Regions from separate parts of the Homo sapiens genome. Here regions 1, 2, 3, 5 and 6 are each linked to region 4. The links are contacts of gene promoters, found by promoter capture Hi-C in human tissues and cell types (Jung and others, 2019). All regions are on one chromosome and are shown on one strand. The core of a region is centred on a gene start or on the middle of the fragment in contact, and the rest is flanking DNA. Distances in the headings are between cores, read along the strand shown. Region 1 holds the start of LMNB2 (lamin B2). Region 2 holds the start of GNA15 (G protein subunit alpha 15). Region 3 holds the start of TIMM13 (translocase of inner mitochondrial membrane 13). Region 4 holds the start of ZNF555 (zinc finger protein 555). Region 5 holds the start of CELF5 (CUGBP Elav-like family member 5). Region 6 overlaps NCLN (nicalin).

The links. Contacts are between HindIII fragments. The study calls those that stand out against the background at their distance.
Region 1: the fragment with the promoter of LMNB2 here is called in contact with the fragment with the promoter of ZNF555 in region 4 in 2 of the 25 tissues and cell types used here (dorsolateral prefrontal cortex and liver).
Region 2: a contact is called between the fragment with the promoter of GNA15 here and the fragment with the promoter of ZNF555 in region 4, in 2 of the 25 tissues and cell types used here (aorta and pancreas).
Region 3: a contact is called between the fragment with the promoter of TIMM13 here and the fragment with the promoter of ZNF555 in region 4, in 1 of the 25 tissues and cell types used here (liver).
Region 5: a contact is called between the fragment with the promoter of CELF5 here and the fragment with the promoter of ZNF555 in region 4, in 5 of the 25 tissues and cell types used here (adrenal gland, dorsolateral prefrontal cortex, mesenchymal stem cells and 2 more).
Region 6: a contact is called between a fragment that was not itself captured here and the fragment with the promoter of ZNF555 in region 4, in 2 of the 25 tissues and cell types used here (H1 embryonic stem cells and bladder).

What each region holds. Positions count from the first base shown.
Region 1 is chr19:2,455,644-2,458,343 of GRCh38, forward strand. It overlaps LMNB2 (lamin B2), which reads right to left and starts at 1,316. Exons shown (of 12, transcript NM_032737.4): 1 at 1,027-1,316. The coding sequence starts at 1,290. RefSeq lists an enhancer at 1-44 and silencers at 305-484, 715-804, 865-1,114, 1,235-1,414. The HindIII fragment of the contact is 70,551 bases long and covers 1-2,700 here.
Region 2 is chr19:3,134,743-3,137,494 of GRCh38, forward strand. GNA15 (G protein subunit alpha 15) reads left to right here and starts at 1,291. Exons shown (of 7, transcript NM_002068.4): 1 at 1,291-1,853. The coding sequence starts at 1,709. The HindIII fragment of the contact is 27,733 bases long and covers 1-2,752 here.
Region 3 is chr19:2,426,336-2,429,082 of GRCh38, forward strand. It overlaps TIMM13 (translocase of inner mitochondrial membrane 13), which reads right to left and starts at 1,251. Exons shown (of 3, transcript NM_012458.4): 1 at 1,079-1,251; 2 at 921-989; 3 at 1-711. The coding sequence starts at 1,198. The coding sequence ends at 613. It overlaps LMNB2 (lamin B2), which reads right to left. Exons shown (of 12, transcript NM_032737.4): 12 at 1,831-2,747. RefSeq lists enhancers at 1-741, 742-1,487, 1,572-1,721 and a silencer at 932-1,021. The HindIII fragment of the contact is 21,330 bases long and covers 1-2,747 here.
Region 4 is chr19:2,840,082-2,842,861 of GRCh38, forward strand. ZNF555 (zinc finger protein 555) reads left to right here and starts at 1,394. Exons shown (of 4, transcript NM_152791.5): 1 at 1,394-1,494. The coding sequence starts at 1,492. RefSeq lists silencers at 855-964, 975-1,164, 1,385-1,684, 1,725-1,774. The HindIII fragment of the contact is 15,507 bases long and covers 1-2,780 here.
Region 5 is chr19:3,223,401-3,226,100 of GRCh38, forward strand. It overlaps CELF5 (CUGBP Elav-like family member 5), which reads left to right and starts at 1,261. Exons shown (of 13, transcript NM_021938.4): 1 at 1,261-1,598. The coding sequence starts at 1,340. RefSeq lists a silencer at 1,082-1,201. The HindIII fragment of the contact is 19,492 bases long and covers 1-2,700 here.
Region 6 is chr19:3,204,339-3,207,038 of GRCh38, forward strand. NCLN (nicalin) reads left to right here. Exons shown (of 15, transcript NM_020170.4): 9 at 235-413; 10 at 1,601-1,688; 11 at 1,814-1,852; 12 at 1,924-2,087. Among named protein-coding and RNA genes, the nearest start is that of CELF5, 19 kb to the right of the region's middle. The HindIII fragment of the contact is 5,490 bases long and covers 1-2,700 here.

The sequences.
Region 1 (2,700 bases), core at 66-2,565, 380 kb before region 4:
ATAGGTGGGGCATTCCTGGTCTGCACTTTTCACTCAGTGCCCTAGAAACCCCCTGGAGGTCCCCAAGAGAATGGGCCACTCCGGTCTGCACCCCTCCCAAGGGGTCCCCCAAGATCTCGGAAACTGCGGTGGGCAGGGCCTGCCCAGGTGGCACCCCTCACTCAGGGTCTCCCCCTGGAGATCCCCGAGGCCAGGCTGACCCCACCCCTGCTCAGGGTCCCCCGTGATCGCGTACTCCGCGGTGGGCTGGGCCTGGCCGAGCTGCACCCCTCACTCAGGGACCCCTTGAAACCCCCTGGAGACCCCCAAGCCGGGACCCTTCCCGGTCTGCACCCCTGCCCAGGGTCCCCGCGATCGCGCACCCCGCGGTGGCCAGGACCTGCACCCTTCATCCAGGAGCCCCCCGCAAACCCCCTGGAGACCCCAAGCCGGGAGTCGTTCAGAGTCCCCCGCGATCGCGCGCCCCGTGGTGGGCGGGGCCTGGCCGAGTAGCACCTTTCACTCAGGGACTCTCCGAAACGCGGCGGAGATCCCCGAGGCCGGACTGTCCCCGTCTGCATCCCAGCTCAGGGTTCCCCGCGACTGGGAGCCCCGCAGTGGGCTGGGCCTAGCCGAGCAGCACCCCTCACTCAGAAGCCCCCAAACCTCCTGGAGACCCCCGAGCCGGAGCCTGTCCCCGTCTGCACCCCCGCCCAGGGTCCCCGCGATCACGCACCCCGCGGTGGGCGGGGCCTGGCCGAACTGCACCGCTCACTCAGGGGCCCCTCGAAACCCCCTGGAGACCCTCGAGACCCGGGCCCGTCCCTGTCTGCACCCAGGGTCCCAGCGATTGCCCACCCCGCGGTGGGAGGGACCTGGCCGAGCTGCACCCCTCACTCAGGGGCCCCCCGAAACCCCGCGGAAACCCCCGAAGCCGGGGCCCGTCCCCGTCTGCACCCCCGCCCAGGGTCCCCGCGATCGCGCGCCCCGCGGTGGGCGGGGCCTGCCGGCTGCACCCCCGCCCGGCCCCTAAGCCCCGGCGCCCACCTCGCGCGTGGTCACCTCCTCCTTCTCTGAGATCTTGAGCAGGAGCCGGTCGTTCTCCAGCTCCAGCGCGCGGACGCGGTCGATGTAGTGCGCCAGGCGGTCGTTGAGCTCGCGCAGCTCCTCCTTCTCCTGCAGCCGCGACAGGCGCGTGGGCGACAGCGGCGTGGCGGGCCCGCCCGCGCGGCCGGGCAGCGGCGTGGCCATGGTGGCGGCGGCTCGCGGCCTGCGCTGCTCCCGACGGCGGCCCGGGCTCGGCGGGCTCATTCAATCCGCGCCGCCGGCTGCAAGATGGCGCCGCGCCGCGCCGCGCCCGCCGCCCGCCGCGGCGGGGCAGCCTGGGACTGGTAGTCCGACCGCCGGGCGCGCGCGGGGCACGCCGGAAGTTGAAGTCTCCGTCCAGCTCTCGCTTCGCAGAGGCGCTGACTCCAGAGACAGACTTCCTGGCTGCAAACTCCCAGCTCCGCCACGAGGAAACAGCGTTGGGTTGCTTTCTAGTACCTGTTTCCCCACTTAGAGAACCTCAAAACGTGTTCAAAGAACCAGACACAAAAGGCCATATAGGGCCGGGCGTGGTGGCTCACGCCTGTAATCCCAGCACTTTGGGAGGCCAAGGCCGGTGGATCACTTGAGAAAAGAATTTCGAGATCAGCCTGGACCACATAGGGAGACCCCCCCACACCATCTCTACTACGGAGGCGCGCGCCGGTAATCCCAGCTACTTGGGAGGCTGAGGCAGGAGAATCTCTTGAACTTGGGACGTGGAGGTTGCAGTAAGCCAAGATCGCGGCACTGCACTCCAGCCTGGGCAACAATGAGAAACTTTGTCTCAAAAAAAAAAAAAAAAAAAAAAAAAAGCCATATAGTGTACAATGCCACTGATATAAAATGTCCAGAAGAGGCTGTCAAGGAGTATGAATTTCAACAAATTGAGTTTAATGATCTCATTGGCTCTTATTAGCAATTCATGAATTGGATAGCATTCAATCTATTAAATAGGCACTCCAATGAGCTGAGCAGAGAGGATGGGCATTCTGCATTACAGGCAGAAAAGGCTGAAGAAAGGAGAAATAAGAATTAAAATAAAAGCCAGGCCAGGTACAGTGGTTTGCTCACGCCTGTAATGCCAGCACTTTGGGAGGCGGAGGTGGGAGGATAGCCTGAGCCCAGGAGTTTGAGACTGGCCTGGGCAACATAGCAAGACCCCATTTCTAAAAATAAAAATAAAAAAATTAGCCAGGTGCAGTGGCTCACACCTGTATTCCCAGCACTTTAGGAGGCCAAGCCGGGCAGATCATGAGGTCAGGAGTTCGAGACCAGCCTGACCAATATGGTGAAATCCCGTCTCTACTAAAAATACAAAAATTAGCCAGGCATGGTGGCACATGCCTGTAGTCTCAGCTACTCGGGAAGCTGAGGCAGGAGAATTGCTTTAACCCGGGAGGCGGAGGTTGCAGGGAGCCAAGATTGAACCACTGCACTCCAGCCTAGGCAACAGAGTAAGACTCCACCTCAAAAAAAAAAAAAAAAAAAAATTAGCTGGGCGCCTATAGTCCTAGGTATTTGGGAGGCTAAGGTGGCAGGATTGTTTGAGCAAGAGAGGTCAAGGTTGCAGTGAGCCCTGATCACATCACTGCATTCCAGCCTGGGTGACAGAGTGAGAGTTTGTCTCAAAAA
Region 2 (2,752 bases), core at 41-2,540, 290 kb after region 4:
ATTTTTTATTTTTTTTGAGATGGAGTCTCACTTCGTCGCCAGGCTGGAGTGCAGTGGCACGATCTCAGCTCACTGCCACCTCTGCCTCCCGGGTTCAAGCGATTCTCTTGCCTCAGCCTCCCAAGTAGGTGGGACTACAGGCGTGCACCACCACGCCCGGCTAATTTTTGTATTTTTAGTAGAGACGGGGTTTCGCCGTGTTGGCCAGGCTGGTCTCGATTTCTTGACTTTGTGATCTGCCCGCCTTGGCCTCCCAAAGTATAGGGATTACATGCGTGAGCCACCAGGCCCAGCCTAAAATTTATTTTATTATCTGTTCTTTAACTAGAACCTTAGGTAAGGAGGTCTGGGATCTGTGTCTCTTGGCTACCGTGCCTGGCACACAGTTGGCGCTCCATGAATGCACGCACAATGAAGGGATGGCCCTGCCTGGAATCTGCCTGGTAGGCGTCTAGACTCTGGGGCCCCGCAGGTGAGGGATAGGCTCCCGGCTCTGCCTTGTGCCAGCCCCACCGGTCACTCCCCTGCTCTATGCCTCAACCTCCTCATCAGTCAAACAGGGATGACAGTAGTAACTATACAGGGTGATGTGAGTGTAAAACCAGCTAATGTGAGCCAAAACCCGGCTAATTTTTGTATCTTTAGTAGAGACAGGGTTTCGCCATGTTGGCCAGGCTGGTTTCGAACTCCTGACCTCAGGCAAGCTGCCCACCTCTGCAGGGTGGATCACCTGAGGTCAGGGCAGAGTCGCTGGAAACAGTCCATGACACCTGGCCTGAGCTGTTTCTTAAAAATATATCAGAAGGGCCGAGCGTGGTGGTTTATGCCTGCAATCCCAGCACTTTGGGAGGCCGAGGCGGGTGGATCACCTGAGGTCAGGAGTTTGAGACCAGCCTGGCCAACGTGGTGGAACCCTTTCTCTACTAAAAATCCAAAGTTAGCCCGGCGTGGTGGTGGATGCCTGTAATCCCAGCTACTCGAGAGGCTGAGGCAGGAGAATTGCTTGAACCTGGGAGGCAGATGTTGCAGAGTCAAGATCCTGCCACTGCACTCCAGCCTGGGCAATAAGAGTGAAACTCTGTCTCAAAAAAAAAAAAAAAAATATATATATATATATATATATATATATATATATATATATATATATATACACATATATATATATACACACACATATATATATGATATATATATAATGTATCAGCAGTAGCACGGGTCTGACGGTTCCTGATTGGCTCCGAGGAGGGGGACAGCTCCGGGTGAAGCCTGAGGAGAATCCGCCCCTTCTCCAGAAGGAGGAAGAAGGGCCCTGCTGGTCACACAGGACCCAGTCTGCGGTGGGGGTTTTCCCGCCACCGCCCCGCCCTCCCTGGGGCCCCCACCTCACCCTCTCCTGGCACCCTTCACCGTCAACCTGTCGGGCCGGGTCTGAGCAGGTCTGGAGGTGGGCGGGGAGCCCTGGCCTCCCCACCTCCTCCCGTCCCCACCCTGTTCCCAGCACTCAAGCCTTGCCACCGCCGAGCCGGGCTTCCTGGGTGTTTCAGGCAAGGAAGTCTAGGTCCCTGGGGGGTGACCCCCAAGGAAAAGGCAGCCTCCCTGCGCACCCGGTTGCCCGGAGCCCTCTCCAGGGCCGGCTGGGCTGGGGGTTGCCCTGGCCAGCAGGGGCCCGGGGGCGATGCCACCCGGTGCCGACTGAGGCCACCGCACCATGGCCCGCTCGCTGACCTGGCGCTGCTGCCCCTGGTGCCTGACGGAGGATGAGAAGGCCGCCGCCCGGGTGGACCAGGAGATCAACAGGATCCTCTTGGAGCAGAAGAAGCAGGACCGCGGGGAGCTGAAGCTGCTGCTTTTGGGTGAGTCCAGGGTCGGTGGGCGGTGGGTGGTGGGCAGTGGGCGGTGGCCAGCCGGCAGGGGTGTCGGGGCAAGGAGGCGGATCAGGCTAGGTCAGACATTGGCATCGTGGAGCCGTCGCCTCCTCCCAGGGAATGGGGAGCCTGGAACCCATTTTCCAGATGAGAAAGACTGAGGTTCAGAGAAGCCAAGTTCCTTGTCCAACGTGCGACCAGCGGCCAGGTGCCCAGGCCTGTCCACTGTGTGGGGCATATACAATAGCAGACGTGGCTCTACCGGGCCCCTGCCGGGCAGGCCCAGCACGCCCTACCTGTCTGTGTCATGGCGAGGGAATGATGAGCTCAGGTGTGCAACCCGTTCTGGCCAGCCCACCCGTAAGGGAGGGGCCGGCTCCAGCCTCTCCTTCACCAGGACGCTCCCTCTCGCCTTTACCTCCCTGCCATGGCTGGAGAGGGCTTGTCTAGGGCTCCTTTGGGGGCTAGAAAGGATGGATTGATTGGTTCATTGGTTCATTCATTCATTATTCATTCATTTAAGATTTATTGGGTAGCTCCCAGGAACGAGGCAGCCAAACAGGGGAAGATATTTCTGTCTTCCTGGATCTCATTTCCTGTGAAGGAGCCAAGACATTTAGTCTGTAAACTCATAAGCAGATAAAATAATTCTGGCAACAAGAATTATCTAGGAGAAAACAAAACAGGGTGATGGCTTCCATGCGGAGGCTTCAGATGGGGGAGTCGACGTCAGTAACGGTTCAAGATTCTGAACTCTGGCTGGGTGCAGTGGCTCAAGCCTGTGATTTCAGCACTTTGGGAGGCCCAGGCGGGTGGGATCACTTGAGGTCAGGAGTTCAAGACACAGCCAGGCCAACATGGTGAAGCCCCGTCTCTACTAAAATACC
Region 3 (2,747 bases), core at 1-2,500, 410 kb before region 4:
GAAGCAGGGTCAAAGCAAGCCCTGACAAGGGGAAGGCTGTCCCCCTTAGCCTTTGGGGCAGGGGTGGCAGCAGCAACACATTCCTCGTGACTCAGCAGCCCGGTGGCACTAAGGGGAAAGATGGACTTCTCCCAACCCAGGGGAGGCTGAGACCCTCCGAGCTGGGGTTCCAGGGACACGCGTCACCTCTTCCCAGAGACCCCTCAGGAGGGAAATAAAGAGGTTTCTCTCCGTCCTCCACCAATTTATTTGCCCATCCGCAGGAGGTGACAGCTCCTGTGGTGTCTGACCACCCCCAACTCCGAAGTCCAGACAAGCTGTCCGCCCAGAATATGAGGCTGACTTGGGCACACTAGGGGAATACCCCAAAGGCCTGAAGGAGGTGCCACTGGGCTGCCAGCACTTCAGGAAGGCACAGGGCCCCACACCCCCGAGATCCAAGCTGCACTGGCTGGCAGGGGGCAGGGCGGGGGGTGGCGAGGACACAGTCCCGTGTGTCCCAGCACCGGTGCCACCCTCCTAAGCCCCGGGCAGGCAGTACGTACATGCGGACCCCGCCTCTCAAAGCACGTTTATGGAAATGAACAGGGTGGGGTGGCCCGCGCTCGCCGGTCACATGTTGGCTCGTTCCCGCTGCAGCCGCGAGTTGTAGGCGCGAGACACGGTGTTCCAGGCGTCCATGTAGCGGTCCATGCACATGGCGATGCACTTCTGCGGGAGCGGAGGGGCGCACGGCTCAGCTCGGGACTTCGCGGCCCCGGGGACCGCCCTGACCCCGGCTCCAGGACGCCCGGGCTGCAGACTACGCACGTGCAGTGACCACTCCGTCGCACCTCCCCGTTAGTCTGCGCACGCGCAGACACCTCCCCCCTCGAATCTAGGCCCTCGCGACCCTTGCCCCGAACCTCCGCGGGTCTCACCTGCTCGGAGTTGTCCAGGGAGCCCCCAGGTTTCCCTATACACTTCCGGAAACACTTGTCCGTCATCCTCTGTGGAGACACGCGAGGCTTTAGCCGCGACGTCGGCCCCCAGGGGTGGCCCTGTCGCCCCCAGCGCCCGTCCCCGGCCAGCCCCGCACCTGCAGCAGCTCCTGCGCGTTGGCCACGGCGATCTGCACTTTCACCTGCTCCATTATGAGCCCTGGGTCCAGCTTCCCGCTGCCGGAGCCCCCGAAATCGGAGCCGAAGCCGCCCTCCATGGCTCCGCAAAGTCAACCGGACCGAGGCCGCGTGCGCCGACTCGTAACTAACTGCGCCGGAAGCGGGCCGCCCGGGGCACCACGGGAAACGGAGTCCGCGCGGACGGGGACGGAGGACTACAACTCCCACACGACCGCGCGCGCCCGGGCCATTCAAGGTCGCGCGGGGGGCCCTCCGCTCATGCGGAGGCCTGGACCTGCCGTTACCTACACGAGCTACCCGTGGTTGCGACTCCGCGGGAAGAGGGAGGCCCTGACTTGGCCGGGGAGTAGGGGGGCTACTACGTGCGGCCGAGGCCGATCACTTTGTACTCACGCTCTGCCTCCAGCTCGTCCCGAAGGGCCTGCCGCGCATGCGCACGAGGCACCCGGCGCGTCTATACAGCGTGTTGCCGCCGGGGCGGAGCCCGGTCGCATCACGTGACGAAGAGTCAGCTTGTGCAACAGCGTCGGAGGCTCACTAGAAAAAAAAGGGCAGGGTCCCATGCATCGCCTGGGTCCTGTTTACACTAGCTACACTAGCCAGTGACCTTTTTCCTTGGGGGTGGAGGGATCTTTCTTAGACATCCGCTTCATTAGGGCAGAGGCCCCGGCTCGAGCTTCCCCTCAGGAATAAACTCAGAGGCAGAACCTAAAATCAAAATGTTTATTGGAGTGTTGTACAAAAAAGTTTCCAGTCATAAAATGTATATTACAAATCATTGGAAAAAAAAAAGAACACATTAGGCATGCATCTTCTTAAAAACCGAATCTCTGAAATGAAAGTCCATGCCAGCCCCAGCTGCAGCCCAGCTCCGTTTTTGCAGGTTGTGCTGTGACGCTCGCTGGACGCAGGGCTTGGAAGAGGCTGCAGGCGGCGACGCCCCAGGACTGAGGAGTCCCTCAGATCTTTAACAAAGAACTGCCGCGTGCAGGCTTCAGACCAACCCCAGCCAAAGCCGCTGGCATGAGGACAGGTGCATGATCGGATTCTGGGTCAGCCCGCAGGCCTCCCGGCTCCTGGGCTCAGCGGGGCAGGCTTCAGCGTTAACCTGGCGCTGTGCACCCCAGAACCCGCGTTGGTCCAGCAGGCGTGGGCCTCCCCCCAGGGCTGGGTGGCGTCTGATGCTTCGCAGGGAGGGCGCTAGGCTTCGAGTCACACGGCACGGGCTTACACAGAGGGATGGTTTCGCATCGTTCTAAGCGGCACACAGCTAAGCGTATTTGGGGACAAATGCAAATTGTTTCCCAGGCCATAAATAACTTTTAAAAATTTGATTTTCTTAGTGTTTCCAAAGACTCAATTCTCAATGAACCTCCAATTACCCACAGGCTGCCCAGTCCACGCTTCTCCCCACCCCCTTCAGCTAAGGGCACCCGCAGTCCTAGGACCACCCCCAGCTCCACCCAAGGCAAATGTAGGGTGGGGGGTTCTGTGGGCCTGGGGCGTGCTGTTTTCAGGACAGGACTGGGCAGCGTCTGGACATGAGGACCTGCGGGTTTTGGGGGGGACTTTGTCCCTGAGCCCAGCCTGCAAGGCTGTCGGCAAATCACAGACCAACTCCAGGAT
Region 4 (2,780 bases), core at 144-2,643:
TTAGTAGAGACGGGGTTTCACCGTGTTAGCCAGGATGGTCTCGATCTCCTGACCTCGTGATCCGCCCGCCTCGGCCTCCCAAAGTGCTGGGATTACAGGCGTGAGCCACCGTGCCCGGCCTCAAGCGATTCTCTTGCCTCAGCCTCCCTAGCTGGGATTACAGGTGCGCGCCACCACGCCCGGCTAATTTTGTATTTTTAGTAGAGACAGGGTTTTGCCATGTTGGGCAGGCTGGTCTTGAACTCCTGACCTCAGGTGATCCGCCCGCCTCGGCCTCCCAAAGTGCTGGGATTACAGGCGTGAGCCACAGCGCCCGGCCAGCTTTTCAATCTTCCAAATTTTGGGGGGATGTACTTAAAAAAATGATCTGAAAACATTTTCCTTAGAGTTTAAAATATGAACTTGAGAGTTTTTTTGTTTTTTAATATGGAGTCTCACTCTGTCGCCCAGGCTAGACTGCAGTGGGGCGATCTCGGGTCACTACAACCTCCACCTCTCGGGTTCAAGCAATTCTCCTGCCCCAGCATCCCCAGTAGCTGAGATTACAGGCGCCCGGCACCACGCCGGGCTGATTTCTGTATTTTTAGTAGAGAAAGGGTTTCACCATATTGGCCACGATGGTCTCAAACTCCTGAACTCAGATGATCCGTCCACCTCGGTCTCCCAAAGTGCTGGGATTACAGGCGTGAGCCACTGCGCCCAGCCAAATGTGAGGGTTTTAATGAACATCTCATATCTTCTGGTTGATTTGAGCAAAGCTCCTGCCCCCTGCCAGGCTTTGGGTTCGGCCTCCCCCAGACCGGGTCTCCGGATTCGCAGCCCCCTGGGCGGGGTCTCCATGTCGCCCGCAGCGCGATGACGTCACGTCTGCGGGTCCCGCCCCCACGTAGGTCTCGGCCCTTCGGACCCGGCGCCCAGCCCCCGTTCGCCCTGCCAGGCCCGGGCCGCCCGCTTGCATCCACCTCCTGTCCGGACAAGGGGTCGCCTCGTGAGGAAACTAGTCTGGAGTTCCCACGCCCGTCCCGGAGGAGGACGCGGGCGGGGCGCCCGAACTGCGGGGAGAGGGCGATTCCGCCCCGGGCTGAAACCAGTTCGCCCAGAAGCCAGTGTCCCCGCAGGGCGGGACAGCCACGCGTGTTCGCAACGCTCCCGTCACTCACCGGCAGGGGGTGGGCCCTAGGGAACTACCCAGTCAGGACGGGCGGGGGCGGGGCCGAGACAAGTATCCAATGAGGGACGCCCAATCGGAATCCGGGGAACTGCCCAATTTACAGCGCCAGGGGACGGACTGGGGAATTCTCCAATCAGAGTCGCCGACGTTGGCAGCACTGTCCAATCAGAAGCGCGGCTTCCCGAGCTCTGTCTAATCAGGCCCCTGGGACGGGACGCCTCTGTCCTAGCCGTGAGTGCCCCGCCTGCCCCTAGCGGTCCCTGGCGTCCCGGTTCCTGTCGCGCTCACCTGCGCCGGTAGCGAAGAAATCGCCCCGGGACATGGTGAGTGTGGCGCAGGAGAGGATCCCGGTGCGGGGCAGCAGGAACCGGCGACCGCCCGAGACCGCGGCTTGGGGGGAGCTGAGGGACGCGGGGGGCGGCCCCGGCGAGGGCGGCGCAGGACGGGAGCCTGGGCCCCGGGGGTCCCGCCCGGCCCCGCCTCCCGCGCTGAGGTCGCGGCTAGGGCGCTCCGAGCTCCGGGTCCCCGCCCGCCTCTGGCCCCAAGGCTGCAGAGCGGGGAGCGGCGCCCGGAGCCCGACTCCGTCCCCGTCGTCCCGGGGTCCCCGCGTCCCTGCGCTCCCGACCCCCCACGCCCCGCCCGGGGCCGCGACGCCTCGGAGCGTTTCGCTGCGGCTTCGGGACCCCCGGGCCGCGGGAGGCAGAGTCGCCCGAGACCCCGAGGTGCGGTCCAGGCTCCCCCGGGACCCGCCCTGGGGCCGACGCCGCGGTGCCTCCTGGGGTGCGGGTCCCTGGTCGGTGCCGCCTCCGCTCGCGCTCCCGCGGCTCAGCTCCTTGGAGGCCCCGCGCCTCCGGCCGCGGTCTCTGGGGGACCCTGGGTTCCTCCCGGGACAGCCCGGGAGCGGTGGGGCCTCGGCGGGGGCGGAGACGCCCCCACCTGCAAAGGCAGCCCCTGGGGCGTGCGAGGTTTCCTCCCCTGAGTCCCGGTTTTCCTTCTTGAGGACTTCTTGTCCCCTCTGACCCCAAGATGCCTGGGGTAGGTAAGGGGAAAAAAAACAAGGGTTCCTGGTCCCTGGGCTCTCACACACAAGGAAGAAAAGTAACTGAAAAGACTAGAGAAACAAGGGAGAGCGAGGACCCCAAAAGCAAACGCACGCAGACCCACAGCGGGGACGCCCGGGAGGCTGGTGCATTAGTGTCCTCGGACTGCTGTAGCAACTGACTGCAAACGAGGGGGCTAAAACCACGGAAATATATTCTTTCACGGTTCCCTAGAAAGTGTGGATTTGAAGACGTTTCTCAGTTCTGTTTTGAGTACTAGCAATGGGATTCCTTGCTGAGGCAACACCTGAGTTGGGGGTGGGAGGGCGTCCGTCGTGGTAGCCTGGCCAGACTTGACCCCTCCCTGGGTTTGTCACTGTGAAAAGATTTTCCTTTTTTCGAGTCAGCAGTTTTTAGGAAGTGAAACGTACATTTAATTAGTAGAAGTTGGAAGATAAAATATTTCCAGGCCGGGCGCGGTGGCTCAAGCCTGTCATCCCAGCACTGTGACAGGCCGAGGGGAGCAGATTACTTGAGGTCAGGAGTTGGGGACCAGCCTGGCCAACATG
Region 5 (2,700 bases), core at 11-2,510, 380 kb after region 4:
TGCCTGGCTAATTTTTGTGTTTTTAGTAGAGACAGAGTTTTCTCCATGTTGATCAGGCTGGTCTCGAACTCCTGATCTCAGGTGATCCACCTGCCTCAGCCTCCCAAAGTGCTGGGATTACAGGTGTGAGCCATCGTGCCTGGCCTGTTTTCTTATTTTTTACAGCAATGGCGTCTCACTATGTTGCTCAGGCTGGTCTCCAACTCCTGGGCTCAAGTGGTCCTCCTGACTCTGCTTCTCAAAGTGCTGGGATTACAGGTGTGAGCCACCACGGCCAGCACGTATTATTATTTTTATTAATATTATTGATGAGTTTCATACGTAAAGGATCACGGGCACTTTAGAGCTGGGAGATACTTCAGTATTTCTCCTATCCTGTCATTATCAGTGCGAGCCAGTCTCCCTCCTTGTTGATGACATTATTGATGAGTTACATACTTAAAGGGCCAAGGACACTTTCTATGTGTAAGCACCCTATAGAACTGGAAGATACTTTTACCATTTCTCCTGTGCTGTCGTGATTAGTGGGAGCACTTTGTCTTGCTCTTGATTAATTATTATTAGTGTTGTTATTATTAGGTGTTTTTTTTTTTTTTTTTTACCAAGACGGAGTTTTGCTCTTGTTGCCCAGGCTGGAGTACAATGGCACAATCTTGGCTCACTGCAACCTCCGCCTCCTGGGTTCAAGTGATTATCCTGCCTCAGCCTCCCGAGTAGCTGGGATTACAGGCACCCCCCGCCACCGAGCCCAGCTAATTTTTGTATTCTTTAGTAGAGACGGGGTTTCACCGTGTTAGCCAGTCTGGTCTCGAACTCCTGACCTCAAGTGATCCACCCACCTCGGCCTCCCAAAGTGCTGAGATGACAGGCGTGAGCCACCGCGCCCAGCCATATTATTAGTGTTATTAATATTATTGATGAGTTACCTACTTTAAGGATCACGGGCGCTTTCAACGACAAGCCCCCTACATTATCCCAGCAACTTTTGACATTCTTCCGGCCGATGCCCTCCGCGGGAGCCGGCGGGGACCCCTGGGAAGCCGGCTAAGGCCCGTCCCGCCCGCAGCTCCGCCCTCGCCCACCCGTAGGCGGGGCCCGGGGCCTTCCGGCCTCAGTTTCCCCCCGCGGCCCGGGGATGCGGGGAGGCGCCGGCTGCCCCGCGCGGCGCGGCCGCCAGGGGCCGCTGCGGAGCCGCCTTTGTGGTCCCGATGCCGGGGCGGGCGCGGGCGGGAGGAGGGCGCGGGGGCCCGGGAGGGAGGCGGGAGGCGCGGCCGCCGCTCCAGCTGCGAGTCCGCCCGCCGCCCGCCGCCGCCGCCGCCGGCTCGGTCCCGCGCCCGCCATGGCCCGCCTGACGGAGAGCGAGGCGCGCCGGCAGCAGCAGCAGCTCCTGCAGCCGCGGCCCTCGCCCGTGGGCAGCAGCGGGCCCGAGCCCCCCGGGGGGCAGCCCGACGGCATGAAGGACCTGGACGCCATCAAACTCTTCGTGGGCCAGATCCCGCGGCACCTGGACGAGAAGGACCTCAAGCCGCTCTTCGAGCAGTTCGGCCGCATCTACGAGCTCACGGTGCTCAAAGACCCCTACACGGGGATGCACAAAGGTGGGCGCCCGGCCCCCTCCCCCCTCTCCCCCTCCCTCCGCCTCCCACCCCACCTTCCGGCATCTTCTCTCCCCCATCACCATCCCTCCTCTGCTCACCTCCCTCCTCTGCCTGCCTCTGCCGGAGCATCGGTTCTTACCCCCTCCCTCCCACCCACCCCTCCTCCCCTCTCTGGGGGTGCAGCTGACAGATCCGAGCGGGCCCCCTCCCCTCCTCCGCCCCCTCTCCCTCCCTCCCCACCTTCCGGCATCTCCTCTCTCTCTCCCTCTCTCTCTCCCTCTCTCTCTCCCTTTCTCTTCTCTCCCATCTCCCTCGACCTCTCATCCTTCCCCCCACAGCACCCTCTCTCTCCCTCCCTCCCTCCCTCACCCTTCCATCCCCCAGACCCCCACCCCTTCCTCCCTCCCTCACCCCACTCTTTCCTGCCCGTTTGCCAGGGGAGCCTCGGGAACGCCGGCACCCCTCCCTGCCCCCCCACCCCCATTCATTCAGCCTCCCCAGGCCCCGTCGGGGAAGTTTGCACCTGCGGACTCCATTGCTTTGGTTATTTTCACAAAGCCAGGCCGGCGGGGCAGGTCCGGCCGCGGGGGACACGGATGCCCAGGACCCCAGGCTAATCGGTAACTACAAAGGAAGACGGGTTGGGGGCGCCCGGCTCGGGGGGACGCGCCCGCCTCGCCTGCCTCGGGTGGCGGAGAGGCTCCCGTCGCTGCCCACCCCCTGGCCCCACCACCTCCGCGTGGATCAGCATTCTCTCCTCCATTTCTCTGCCCTCCCCCTCCCCCGCCTCCACCTTGGGCTCAAGTTGAAACTGGCCGAGCCTCTTAGCAATGTGTTGGGGTCTCAGGCCCAAGACAATGAGCTTGGACGTGTCCATCTGGGCAGAGCCCAAATTCTGGGGTGGACAGGGAGGAGGAGGGAGGCGTGGGCGGCCTCAGGCCTGTCTGCCTCCCTCCCACTGGATTCTCCCTCCGATGGCATCCCGGGTGGGGGTGTCCGGCAATTGTATCCCCAGCCCTTGGTTCCCATCATGGGCCCAGCGTCTGAATTGGGGTGGCTTTGACAGCCTTCCGGTCAGGTGTTGGGGACTGGGGGTGCCACT
Region 6 (2,700 bases), core at 201-2,700, 360 kb after region 4:
CTGCGTCAGGGCCGGGCTGGGGTGTCCTGTCCCAGAGTGTCCCCTTGTCCCTCCTTACCCACTGCTCATTGCCCGCCGGGGCTCCAGCAGGCCTTAGGGGGACCCCGGGGGCAGGTGGATTTCTCCTCATTTTGCACCCTCGGGGGTTCTGGGAGGCCCCTGGAGCATTTGGGGAATGGGCTGGGGTGGCCGCCATCCCCGCCTGCCCTCTGCTAATGGCGCCTCCGGCTGCAGGTGGCCGCGCACCAGTTCCCTGAGGTACGGTTCTCCATGGTGCACAAGCGGATCAACCTGGCGGAGGACGTGCTGGCCTGGGAGCACGAGCGCTTCGCCATCCGCCGACTGCCCGCCTTCACGCTGTCCCACCTGGAGAGCCACCGTGACGGCCAGCGCAGCAGCATCATGGACGTGCGGTGAGCGCGGCAGCACCTGCCCGGCCCCTCCTAGGGCTTTCCTGGGGGCTGAGCCACTGGTCGCAACTGCAGAGGCCATGAGAGCCTGGAGGGAGCGGCCCCCACACACAGGCTGCGAGGAAGGGGCCGGTGCGTGGCCAAGGCCGGCTGCACGGTCAGGCCGTTCGCAAGCTCTTCCTTACTGGGGCTAGGGAGGGCGAGGCCAGCAGCCTGAGGTCGTGGCCCCATATAGGACCCCCAGACCCCGTCACCTGTTGAGTTAGGAGCAAGCAGCTCCTGCCTCTGGGCCTCTTCAGGGCCCTGCCACAGCCCGAAAGTCCTGCCTGGCCCCGGCCACCGTCTTGGGGAGCCTGGCCCGCCACCACACCCCGGCCCTTCCTCGCCCCGCCTCCCTCTGGGCACTGTGTCTCTGGCTTCTTATGTCCTCTGACCCTGTGTCCTGCCCGTCTCTCTGCCATCATGTGAGCCCCTGGGCAGGCTTTTGTGGAGCCTGGAACTGTCTGGCCACCCCAGGCACACTCCTGGCCAGTCCTGGCACCAGCAGGTGGGCGCCGTCTCCTCCCCCAGCGCCCGCAGTCCCGGCATAGATCCTTCCCGTTCATCCACTCTGCTCTGCGGTCACTGGGCCCTCAGGAGTGGTTTGAGCTCAGCCATCGGAGGCCTGCAGAAGCCAGTGGCGGGAGGGAGGGGCACATCCCTGGGTAATCGCAGTCCTGGAAAGGATGGAGGTGGCGGTCGCCCACCAGCCAGGAAAGATTGCCAGGAAATGAGGGTGGGTGCACGGCTGTCCCAGCTGTGCTGAGCTCTCTCAAGACCACCAGGGGTCAGCCCAGGAGGGCCACCTGGGATTTGCAGAGGGTCCCAGAATGGATTCTTCCACCAGGACGGAATAGTCCAGTTTAAATTCTGGAAGAGCAGAAAACCGAGTCAGAAGGAACCAAGGCCTCAGGGCGTGAGCCTTACCTGCGCACAGGGACGGGTCAGGGCAAGGGGCCTGGAGGTGTGGGGCCCCCAGTGAATCTGCATCTACATGTTAGCCAAGTAGTTAAAGCTAAGCTTAATTTTTTTTTTTTTTTAAAGACAGAGTCTCACGGTCTCCTAGGCTGGAGTGCTGGGATTACAAGTGTGAGAGCTACCTTGCCTGGCCCAAAGTCCACATTTTAAAACATTGTTTTTGAATCGTGAAGGTCCCGGGTGGATTCTAAGACCCTGACCCGTAACACGAGGATCATTGCAGAGGCCCTGACTCGAGTCATCTACAACCTGACAGAGAAGGTGAGCCCTGAGCCCTCTGTGCCGCCAGACCCAGCCCCAGCCCTGCCCCCGGCCCCGGCCCCACCCCTGGCCCCAGCCCCACTGCAGGGGCCTGGACTCAGGGCCATCCCCTCCTCTCTCCGCAGGGGACACCCCCAGACATGCCGGTGTTCACAGAGCAGATGGTAAGGGGGCCAGGCCAGTGGGTGGGTGGGTGGGCGGGGCCAGGCCATGACTACCACCACCGTCCCTACAGCAGATCCAGCAGGAGCAGCTGGACTCGGTGATGGACTGGCTCACCAACCAGCCGCGGGCCGCGCAGCTGGTGGACAAGGACAGCACCTTCCTCAGCACGCTGGAGCACCACCTGAGCCGCTACCTGAAGGACGTGAAGCAGCACCACGTCAAGGCTGACAAGCGGTGAGGCTGGGGCTCCGCGCTGGCCCCGTTCAGCCTGGGGCCGAGGGGGACCTCCCCCTACTGCATCTCCCACCCCCTCACCCCTGGGGGATGCCAGGTGGAGCAAATACAAAGAGAGGGTGGGATGAGGGCCGGACACGGCGGCTGTGCCTGCAATCCCAGTACTTTGGGAATCCGAGGCAGGTGGATCACTTGAGGTCAGGAGTTCAAGACCAGACTGGCCAACATAGTGAAACCTCATCCCTACTAAAAATACAAAAATTAGGCGGATGTGGCAGTGGGCACCTGTAATCCCAGCTACTTAGGAGGCCGGGACGGAAGAATCGCTTGAACCCAGGAGTTGGAGACCAACCTGGGCAACATAGCAAGACCCCATCTCTACAAACTTTTTAAAGTTTTTATTTATTTGTCTTTGAGATGGAGTCTTCCTCTGTCACCCAGGCTGGAGTGCAGTGGCGTGATCTTGTCTCACTACAGCCTCCATCTCCCGGCTTCAAGTGATTCTCGGACCTCGGTCTCCTGAGTAGCTGGGATTACAGGCACCCGCCACCATGCCCGGCTAATTTTTTTTAATTTTTAGTAGAGATGGGGTTTCACCGTGTTGGCCAGGTTG